Regions from separate parts of the Homo sapiens genome. Here region 2 is linked to region 1. Evidence: promoter capture Hi-C in 16 types of primary human blood cells and fetal thymus (Javierre and others, 2016). All regions are on one chromosome and are shown on one strand. Each heading gives the region's core, a stretch centred on a gene start or on the middle of the fragment in contact. The rest is flanking DNA. Distances are from core to core; before and after follow the strand shown. Region 1 holds the start of MRPL16 (mitochondrial ribosomal protein L16). Region 2 holds the start of TCN1 (transcobalamin 1).

Region 1 (4,705 bases), core at 2,040-4,539:
TATTAAATTGAAAGTGAAACTTATTCTTTTTTTTTTTTTTTTTTTTTTTTTTGTGAGACGGAGTTTCGCTCTTGTCACCCAGGCTGGAGTACAATGGCACGATCTCAGCTCACTGCAACATCCACCTCCTAATTCAAGTGATTCTCCTGCCTCAGCCTCCTGAGTAGCTAGGATTACAGGTACCCACCATCACGCCCAGCTAATTTTTGTATTTTTTAATAGAGACAGGGTTTCACCATGTTGGCCAGGCTGGTCTCGAACTCCCGTCCTCAGGTGATCCACCGTCCTCGGCCTCCCAAAGTGCTGGGATTACAGGCGTGAGCCACCACATCCATCTGTGAAACTTATCCTTACACTAAGAATGCTTTTGTTATTAAGATATTGGGACATCAAGACATTTCCTGGGTCTGTTAAGTCCTGAGCCTGTTCAGTAAACATCATTTTGTTTTTTTGAGGTGGGGTCTTGCTTTGTTGCCCAGGCTGTAGTGCAGTTGTGCTATCACAGCTCACTGCAACCTCTGCCTCCCTGGCTGAAACTATCCTCCCACCTCAGCCTCCCAAGTAGCTGGGACTATGGGCATGCACCACCAAGCCTGGCCCTGGTAAACATTATTAACTGTTCCCTTAACCATAAATATCCTGTGACTAGGAATGCCTAATCTCCTGGCAATGCAGCCTAGTAGACCTCAGCCTCATTTTACCCAGCCTTTATTCCAGATGGAGTCACTCTGGTTCAAATGCCTCTGACAGTTTTACACTTTCAGGTCTTATATTTAAATCTTTAACCTATTTTAAGTTGTATGTGGTATGAGACAAGGGTCCAATTTCAATCTGCAAGTGAATACCCGGTTTTCCCAACGTCATTTGTTGAAGAGACTATCATTCCCCCATTATGTTTTCTTGGCACCTTTGCCAAAAATCAATGGACTGCGCCAGGCGTCGTGGCTCATGCCCGTAGTCCCAGCACTGTGGGAGGCCAAGGTGGGTGGATCACCTGAGGAGTTTGAGACTAGCCTGGCCAACATGGCAAAACCCCTTCTCTACTAAAAATAGAAAAAATTAGCCAGGCGTGGTGGCACACCCCTGTACTAGAGAGGCTGAGGCGGAAGAATCTAGTAACACCCAGTTACTAGAGAGGCTGAGGCGGAAGAATCGCTTGAACCCAGCAGGCGGAAGTGGCAGTGAGCCGAGATCGCACCACTGTACTCCAGCCTGGGCGACAGAGTGAGACTATGTCTCAAGAAAAAAAAAAACAAATCAATGAAGTATAAATGTGTGTGTTTATTTCTGGGCTCTCTATCCTATTCATTTGGTCAGTGTGTCTATTTCTCTGCCATACCGTGCTGTTTCGATTACAATCAACTTATGTTTTGAAGTCAGGGAGTGTGATGCCTCCAGCTTTGTTCTTTTTGTTCCAGATTGTCTGGGCTATTCAGGGTCTTTTGTGGTTCCAAATGAATTTAAGGGTTGTTTTTCCTATTTCTGTGAAAAATGGCATTGGAATTTTGATAGGGATTGCACTGGATCCGTAGATTGCACTTTTTGGCTCTTTTGAAATAAACAATAAGGTAGAAGTTTTGGGGTACCAAAAGACTTAGAGACCAATCAAACCGTGATTTTAGTGCCACTTCATTTTTCACTCAAAACAATATTGCACAATATTCAACTTGAGGACTAAGCTCTGATTTTTTATCTTGCCCAAATTCCTACCTAAGGGAATCATGCCCTACAAACCATAAATTCTCATCATATAGGTTTTATTTTACCCTATATATTGTGACTTACTTTTCAACATGACTCTGGCATAACATTATGAGACAAAGAAAAAAATATTTAACCCCAAAATATATTTCTTTGCCATATCTTGAAATTGCCCTGCAAAGTCTCTTGCGGGAAAAATCCATTTCTATAGGTATTCTCTTTCCCCTTTGTTTTCCTTCCTTCCTTCCCAGATCCAGGAGACAATCAACTAAGAGCCAGGCATATTTTTTTTTCTCTGTCTTGCCCAGTCTGGAGTCTGGAGTGCAGTGGCGTGATCTCGGCTCACTGCAACCTCCGCCTCCTAGGTTCAAGTGATTCTCCTGCCTCAGCTTCCCGAGTAGCTGGGATTACAGGCACCCGCCACCACGTCCAGCTAATTTTTTGTATTTTTAGTGGAGACGGGGTTTCACCATGTTGGTCAGGCTGGTCTTGAACTCCTGACCTCAGGTAATCTGCCCGCTTTGGCCTCCCAAAGTGCTGGGATTACAGGCGTGAACCACTGCGCCCGGCCTCCAGGCACCCTTTAAGTCAGATAAAAAAACAATTTACAACAGTCTTTCTCTAAAGTCTGCTATCTAAGAGCTTCCTCTGCATAATAAAACTTGGTCTCTACAATCATTTATGTTTAACCTGAACATTCCTTTCTATCCATCCCAGGTCTTTGGACAAACTCAACCAATTGTCAACCAGAAAATGTTTACATTTACCTATAGCCTAGAAGCCCACCTTGACTTGTCCCGCCTTTCTGAACCAAACCAATGTATTTCTTAAATGCATTTGATTGATGTCTCATGCCCCTCTAATATGTATAAAGCCAAGCTGCACTTCTACCACCTTGGGCACATGTTCTCAGGACCCCCTGAGGGCTGTGTCACAGGCCATGGTTGCTCATATTTGGCTCAGAATAAATCTCTTCCAATATCTTACAGAATTTCACTCTTTTCATCAACAATATTGTTCATTCACTGAGATCTCTGGAATCACAGACTGTGCTCAAATTCTGATGGTACTGTTTTCCTGTTGTATGACCCAGAACAAGTTAAATTATTTCACCCTCAGGATGGAATCTGCAAAATAAGTATAATGACTTATCTCACAGATTCGTTGGCAGGACTAACGAATGAGGTACTCAATGACACATTGCAATTGCCCTATACATGTTAAACCATTGCTAAATCTGGTATTCTCCTAATGTCTTTGAGGGGTCCCCTAGAAAATCATCTCAAAGGCTGTGAATCGTAAGGGACCACCTTGCTAAGCAACCGGCAGGCACTAACAGTTGTACTCCGCAGAAAAATAAATAAATAAAACAAAAGACTCCCCGCCCCGCCGCCCTCTTCTTCTGGGGAAAGACTGGAGATTGGAAGGAGAACCCTAGAGAGCCAACAGGGCCCCTGGGCGTGGCTGGGCGGACGGCGCCTTTGACCGCAGGAACTCAACCTCCCCCGGAACTCAACCCCCGTCGCTCGAGTTTCTTTCGCTTCCGTCGGGACTCTGCGGAGTGGACCCGAGTGAACACAACTTCCGGCCCCACTGAGCGGTGTCCTGAGCCGATTACAGCTAGGTAGTGGAGCGCCGCTGCTTACCTGGGTGCAGGAGACAGCCGGAGTCGCTGGGGGAGCTCCGCGCCGCCGGACGCCCGTGACCATGTGGAGGCTGCTGGCTCGCGCTAGTGCGCCGCTCCTGCGGGTGCCCTTGTCAGGTCAGAAGTCCCTTTTGGTTCCTAAAGACTTTACCCCTCTTCCTCCCCCACCCTCCAGTGCTTTTTCTCCCTAACCCAAAAGGCGGCTCTGCATATGCTTGGTGAAGCACTGGTTAGGAACTACGCTATCGCACCGCCGACCTCCACCGTAGGGGTTCGTGCAAGAGGGTCACAGCTGCGTCTGGGAGTCGGCGCCCAGAGATCCCGGCTGGCCTTTTGCGGAGCCTGAGCCTTTGAGTCCATTTAGTGGAATCCGCATCCCACACCTCAAGACTCCTCCGGCGGAAGTACTTTTGGGCGGGCGCGGTGGCTCACGCCTTTAATAGCAGCACTTTGGGAGGCCGAGGCGGGCGAATCACTTGAGGTCAGTAGTTTGAAACCAGCCTGGCCAACATGGTGAAACCCTGTCTCTACTGAAAATACAAAAAAAATTAGCTGGGCGTGGTGGTGGGCGACTGTAATCCCAGCTAGTCCGGAGGCTGAGGCAGGAGAATCTCTTGAACCCGGGAGGCGGAGGTTGCAGTGAGCCGAGATCGCGCCACTGCACTGGATCCTGGGCGACAGAGTAAGACTCCGTCTCAAAAAAATAAAATAAATAAAAATAAGAAGTAGTACCTTTGGCCCAGGTTGTATCGGGGTCCCGGCCTGTTACCTTCGTCGTTTAACTTGATTTGTCTTTGTAGATTCCTGGGCACTCCTCCCCGCCAGTGCTGGCGTAAAGACACTGCTCCCAGTACCAAGTTTTGAAGGTGAGAGCTTGTCTTTCTCCTGTTCGTAAATCTTTTCTCTGATGGAAACCAGGAGCGGGTGGGAGATGACATAGGAATGTTCTCGTGTTTCCCATCCCCGTTCACTCTTTCAATAAATATGTTTTTAGAGCTTACAGTTTTGCCAACTAATATTCTGAGCACTAGAAATAAATCAAAGACAAAGGAAACCAAAAAAGTTCCTTGCTCTTACGGAGCAGCGTCTAATGAGATAGCTCCCCTAAAACCTCCCACTGGTGTGTGTCCCATGGTCCACTCAGCCAGTAGTCATTGGCCTGAAATCTGGATTTTTGAGCGGGCATGGTGGCTCACGCCTGTAATCACAGCACTTTAGGAGGCGGAGGCGGGTGGATCACTTGAGGCCAGGAGTTGGAGACCAGCCTGCCAACCTGGTGAAACCCCATCTCTACTAAAAATACAAAAAATTAGCTGGGCGTGGTAGTTTACACCTGTAATCCCAGCTACTCAGGAGGCC
Region 2 (4,927 bases), core at 1,734-4,233, 56 kb before region 1:
TATGGATGAGGATGTAGAGAAAAGAGAATCCTTTGTGTTTGCAGAATGTAAATTTGCACAACCATTATGGAAGACAGTGTGGTGGTTCTTCAAAAAATTATAAATGGAACTGCAATATGATCCAACAATCTTAATTCTGGGTACATATCCAAAGGAAGCAAAAGCAGTGTTTCAAAGAAATATATGTACTCCCGAATGGGCACGGTGGCTCACGCCTGTAATCGCAGCACTTTGGGAGGCTGAGGTGGGTGGATCACCTGAGGTCAGGAGTTTAAGACCAGCCTGATCAACATGTTGAAACCCTGTCTCTACTAAAAAAAAATAGAAAAGTTAGCCGGTGTGGTGGCAGATACCTGTAATCCCAGCTACTCTGGAGGCTGAGGCAGGAAAATCACTTGGACCCGGGAGGTGGAGTTTCCAGTGAGCTGAGATTGCACCATTGCACTCCAGCTTGGGCGACAAGAGAGAAACTCTGTCTCAAAAACAAACAAACAAACAAACAAACAAACAAAAATATATATTATATAAAATATGTACTCCCATGTTCATTGCAGCATTATTCACAATATCAAAGACATAGAAACAACCTACATATCTGTTGATGGATGAAGGGATAAAAATTGTGATTTATATACACACACACATATATGTGTGTGTGTGTATATATATATTTATATTTATATAATAGAATAGTATTCAGCCATAAAAAAGAAGGAAATAGTGCCCTTTGAGACAGCATGGATGAACCTGAAGAATATCATGCTAAATGAAATAAGTCACAGACAAATACTATGATCTCATTTATATGTAGATTCTAAAAATTATCAAATACATGGAAACAGAGAGTAGAATGGTGGTTTCCACATAAGTTTTATATAAATATGTGAGAGAGAGAAAGAGATTTATTCCAAGGAGTTGATTCATGCCCTTATGGAGGCTAAGAAGTCCCACAGTCTACTGTCTGCATGCAGTAAAAGTCAGTGGAGTGATTCAGGCCAAACTGAAAGCCCAAGAACCAGGGGAGCCGATGGTGTAAATCTCAGTTTGAGGGCTGGAGAAGATAAGATGTCCTAGCTCAAACAGGCTGGCAGGAAGCAAAAAAAGGGTGAATTCCCCCTTCCTTCACCATTTTATTCTATTCAGGGTCTCAATAGATTGATTGATGCACACCTACATTGGAGACGGCATTCTACTTTCCAGAGTCCACCAATTAAAATGCTAATCCTATCTGGAAACACCCTCACAGATACATCGAGAAATAGTGTTTAATCTGGGCACTCAGGTGCCAGTCAAGTTGACACAGAAAATTAACCATCACAGAGGTACAATGCAAATAGTGGCTCATTAAGTCATGACATCCTTAGCTAGGCTGACAGTATTCTCTAATAGTTCTCAGAAGAACTGTGATAGGCAACACTTCTCACATGTAGCAACTGCCCTGGCAGGGCAGAAATTCACATTTGATGTATAGCTCTCTGGTTTTCCTCCTTGGTTAGGAAACTCTCATGGAATCTATCTTAGGAGAAAAATCATAGTTTGGAAACCACTATGCCAAAGATCCCCTCATGTGCTGGGTTCTCCAATACTGCCTGCTTCAATTTCAGACTTACAACTTTTACTTCCGTTTTTAAATTTTTTTATTTCAATTTTTGTAGGTACATAGTAGGTGTATATATTTATGGGGCTCATGAAATGTTTTGATACAGGCATGCAATGCGTAATAATCACATCATAGAGAAGGGGGTATTCATCCTGTCAAGCATTTATCCTTTACGTTACAAACAATCCAGTTATACTATTAGTTATTTAAAATGTACAATTAAATTATTATTGACTATAGTCACCCTGTTATGCTACCAATAGTAGGTCTTATTCATTCTTTCCAATATTTTGTACCCATTAACCCTCCGCATCTCCTTCCCACCACTAGCCTTCCCAGCCCCCAGTAACCATCTTTTCATTCTCTATCTCTATGAATTCAATTGTTTTGATTTTTAGATCCCACAAATAAGTGAGAACATGCAATGTATGTCTTTCTGTGCCTGGCTTATTTCACTTAACATAATTATCTCCAGTTCCATCCATTTTGTCACAACTGACAGGATTTCATTCTTTTATATGGCTGAATAGTACTCCATTGTGTATATGTACATTTGCTGTGTTCATTTATCTGTTGATAGACACTTAGCTTGCTTCCAAATCTTGGTTATTGTAAACAGTGCTGCAACAAACATGGGAGTGCAGATATCTCTTCAATATACTGGTCTTCTTTCTTTTGGGTATATAGCCAGCAGTGGGATTGCTGGATCATATGGTAGCTCTATGTTTAGTTTTTTGAGGAAGCTCCAAACTGTTCTCCATAGTGATTGTACTAATTTACATTCCCACCAACAGTGTACAAGGCTTCCCTTTTCTCTACATCCGTGCCAGCATTTGTTATTGCCTGTGTTTTGAATAAAGCCATTTTTAGCTGAGATGAGAGGATATCTCATTGTAGCTTTGATTTCCATTTATCTGATGATCAATGATGTTAAGCACCTTTTCAAGCACTTTTTCATATGCCTGCTTCCCATTTGGATGTCTTCTTTTACTTCCATTTTTATATGTTGTATGTGTTTGCATGATCAAATCTACTTTATCAGGAAACATAAAACATAAAGTGAAACGGAAAAAAAAGGAAAGATTATAGGAAACAGTCATTTGCCTAATATATCTTCACTGCACGGAAGGCAAATAATAGATATGAAACCCGAAGGTTTAGGACAGGAGACAAAGGAAAGTTATTGCCTTATTCTCCCTAACCACATCCTTCAAGTCTTCTTCCTTATTTATTACATCACATGGACAAATACACTTGACCACACCTCCTGACATTGCTCAATATTTGCTTGAGTGAAAAGAGGCTGAGGCAACCTGAAGGAGGAGCTCTCATTACCTTCTGCCCATCACTTAATAAATAGCCAGCCAATTCATCAACATTCTGGTACACTGTTGGAGAGATGAGACAGTCACACCAGCTGCCCCTAGTGGGGCTCTTACTGTTTTCTTTTATTCCAAGCCAACTATGCGAGATTTGTGGTGAGTAAACTTTGAGCTAAAATTACTCTAGAGTGATAGTCTACTGAAAACTGTTGACAAGAGACTCTATGTAGAGTTACCTGAGAAAAGATCCCATTCCAGTTTCGTATGTGGTTGGACTCCATGAATGATGAAAAGGGTGGCAGGAGATGGTGAGGAAAGTCTCACAATGCATGTTGTTGTAAGAGGAATTATAGATTGTGTATTCACTTGCCTAACTGCTCTTTCTATGCTCAGATCCTCTCTAGCACAGCATCCCTACCAAGTAACTCCCTATTCATGTGACTTTTCAATGACAGAAAATTTATGCTCCCAGAAACTTTTCTAGATCATGGAAAGTTATCTTTTGGTCTTGATATGCAATCTTTTTTCCCTGAAATTCAATGCATGATTTTTGGGTTAACCCCTTGTAACTACATAGAAAAAAATAATAATCTCTTTCAAATAGTGATGACTGCTGTCTTGTCATGAGTGAGTTTAGATGTTCCAAGTTGCATGTCCACCTTCCTTCAACTCTTTCCCAGGACACATGGGATAAAGTTCCATCATCTCTTGCATGGGTGTTGACCCCAGAGATTGTGTGGTTCTGTAAAAGAACTTTAAAGTAAGAGAAGGGAAAACTAAATTCAGGTTTAGTTTGATCCCTTAGTTATTGAATGACCCAACATTTCTGAATTTCTTTAGCTTCATTCATAAATAAAGGATAATGAGGGGAGACTATTGAAGCAAATTATCTCATGAAGTCTGGTGCAGTTCTCAAGTGCATGAATTCTCTTTTGTGAGACTTTACTCTGAAATTGAGCTTCAAACCAGTCCAAAGATTACTAGGTGGTACTATCTGTGCTCTCTAACCAGTAAGAAGAGAACACCACAGAAGACAGGCTTGTATACATACAGGCTAAAGCATAGACTCTTCTGACTCTGATTTTTCTTCTTGGCTTGACATTTCCCCTGTTGGATCCTAAGAATAGGGAATGGCTATGTAGGTTTTAGCTTTCAATTCATTTTAAATAATAATGATAATAATTAAATTTATCTTTGAGACTCAAGGAAGCTGATTTGAGTTGTTGATCAGGAACTAAAAAGTCTGTTTCAGGGCCAGAAAATCTGCTGAGCTGGATGGTTCCACAAAATCTCAGAGAACTGACTCACAATTGTTCCATTGTGTCTGCAACAAACCATGACCTTTCTACAATCACTCTATTCAGATCTTCTTGACTCATTCTTTTAAAGTAAAGAAAACTGGGCAAGAGAAATTACATTTCCTTGATTCTCAAGTATAGTGATAAAAACTCCAGTTGAGCTGGAAATAATAGTATGTGCAGCATTTTACAGTTTATTCGGTGGTTTCTTGTCCAATATCTGTAAGGTAAGTGTTAACAGCCACAATTTTTAAATGAGAAAACTAAGAGTAAAACAAGTTACATAAGTTATTATCCACAGTCATAAGTTAAGGAGCACAAAATGTGGCCAAAATCTGAATCCAAACCTCATGTTCTTCTCACTCTCCCACTAATCCATTAGATAATCTGGAGATATGTAGGATTTGGGGCTACTCCTCAAGATTATGGAAAAATACATTGACAAAGTGTCCTGTGTTTAAATAAATAGTAAATCTTTTTATTCTCCTCTATTTCCTTGGGAGCTATGGATTTTCCTACTTCCACAGTATAATGTGACTTCCCTCCATCTCTGGAATTGGGGCATATTGTAGGCTAAAACTGGAGAGTTTTTTACAGGCTGCATAATGCTAAATAATGATCTCGATGCCCAGCCAGCTGGGTAATCAGACAATGAAGTTTTGGGGTCAATCACCAGTATAACACAGAATTATTACCTGCATTTTCTC

The links. The method cuts DNA at HindIII sites, captures the fragments that hold promoters and counts their contacts. A CHiCAGO score of 5 or more calls a contact.
Region 2: a contact is called between the fragment with the promoter of TCN1 here and the fragment with the promoter of MRPL16 in region 1, in 1 of 17 cell types (neutrophils). The highest score is 14.2, in neutrophils.

The regions. Positions count from the first base shown.
Region 1 is chr11:59,809,362-59,814,066 of GRCh38, reverse strand. It overlaps MRPL16 (mitochondrial ribosomal protein L16), which reads left to right and starts at 3,289. Exons shown (of 4, transcript NM_017840.4): 1 at 3,289-3,463; 2 at 4,147-4,212. The coding sequence starts at 3,409. RefSeq lists an enhancer at 3,076-3,295. The HindIII fragment of the contact is 7,606 bases long and covers 1-4,705 here.
Region 2 is chr11:59,864,543-59,869,469 of GRCh38, reverse strand. It overlaps TCN1 (transcobalamin 1), which reads left to right and starts at 2,983. Exons shown (of 9, transcript NM_001062.4): 1 at 2,983-3,078. The coding sequence starts at 3,000. The HindIII fragment of the contact is 12,351 bases long and covers 1-4,927 here.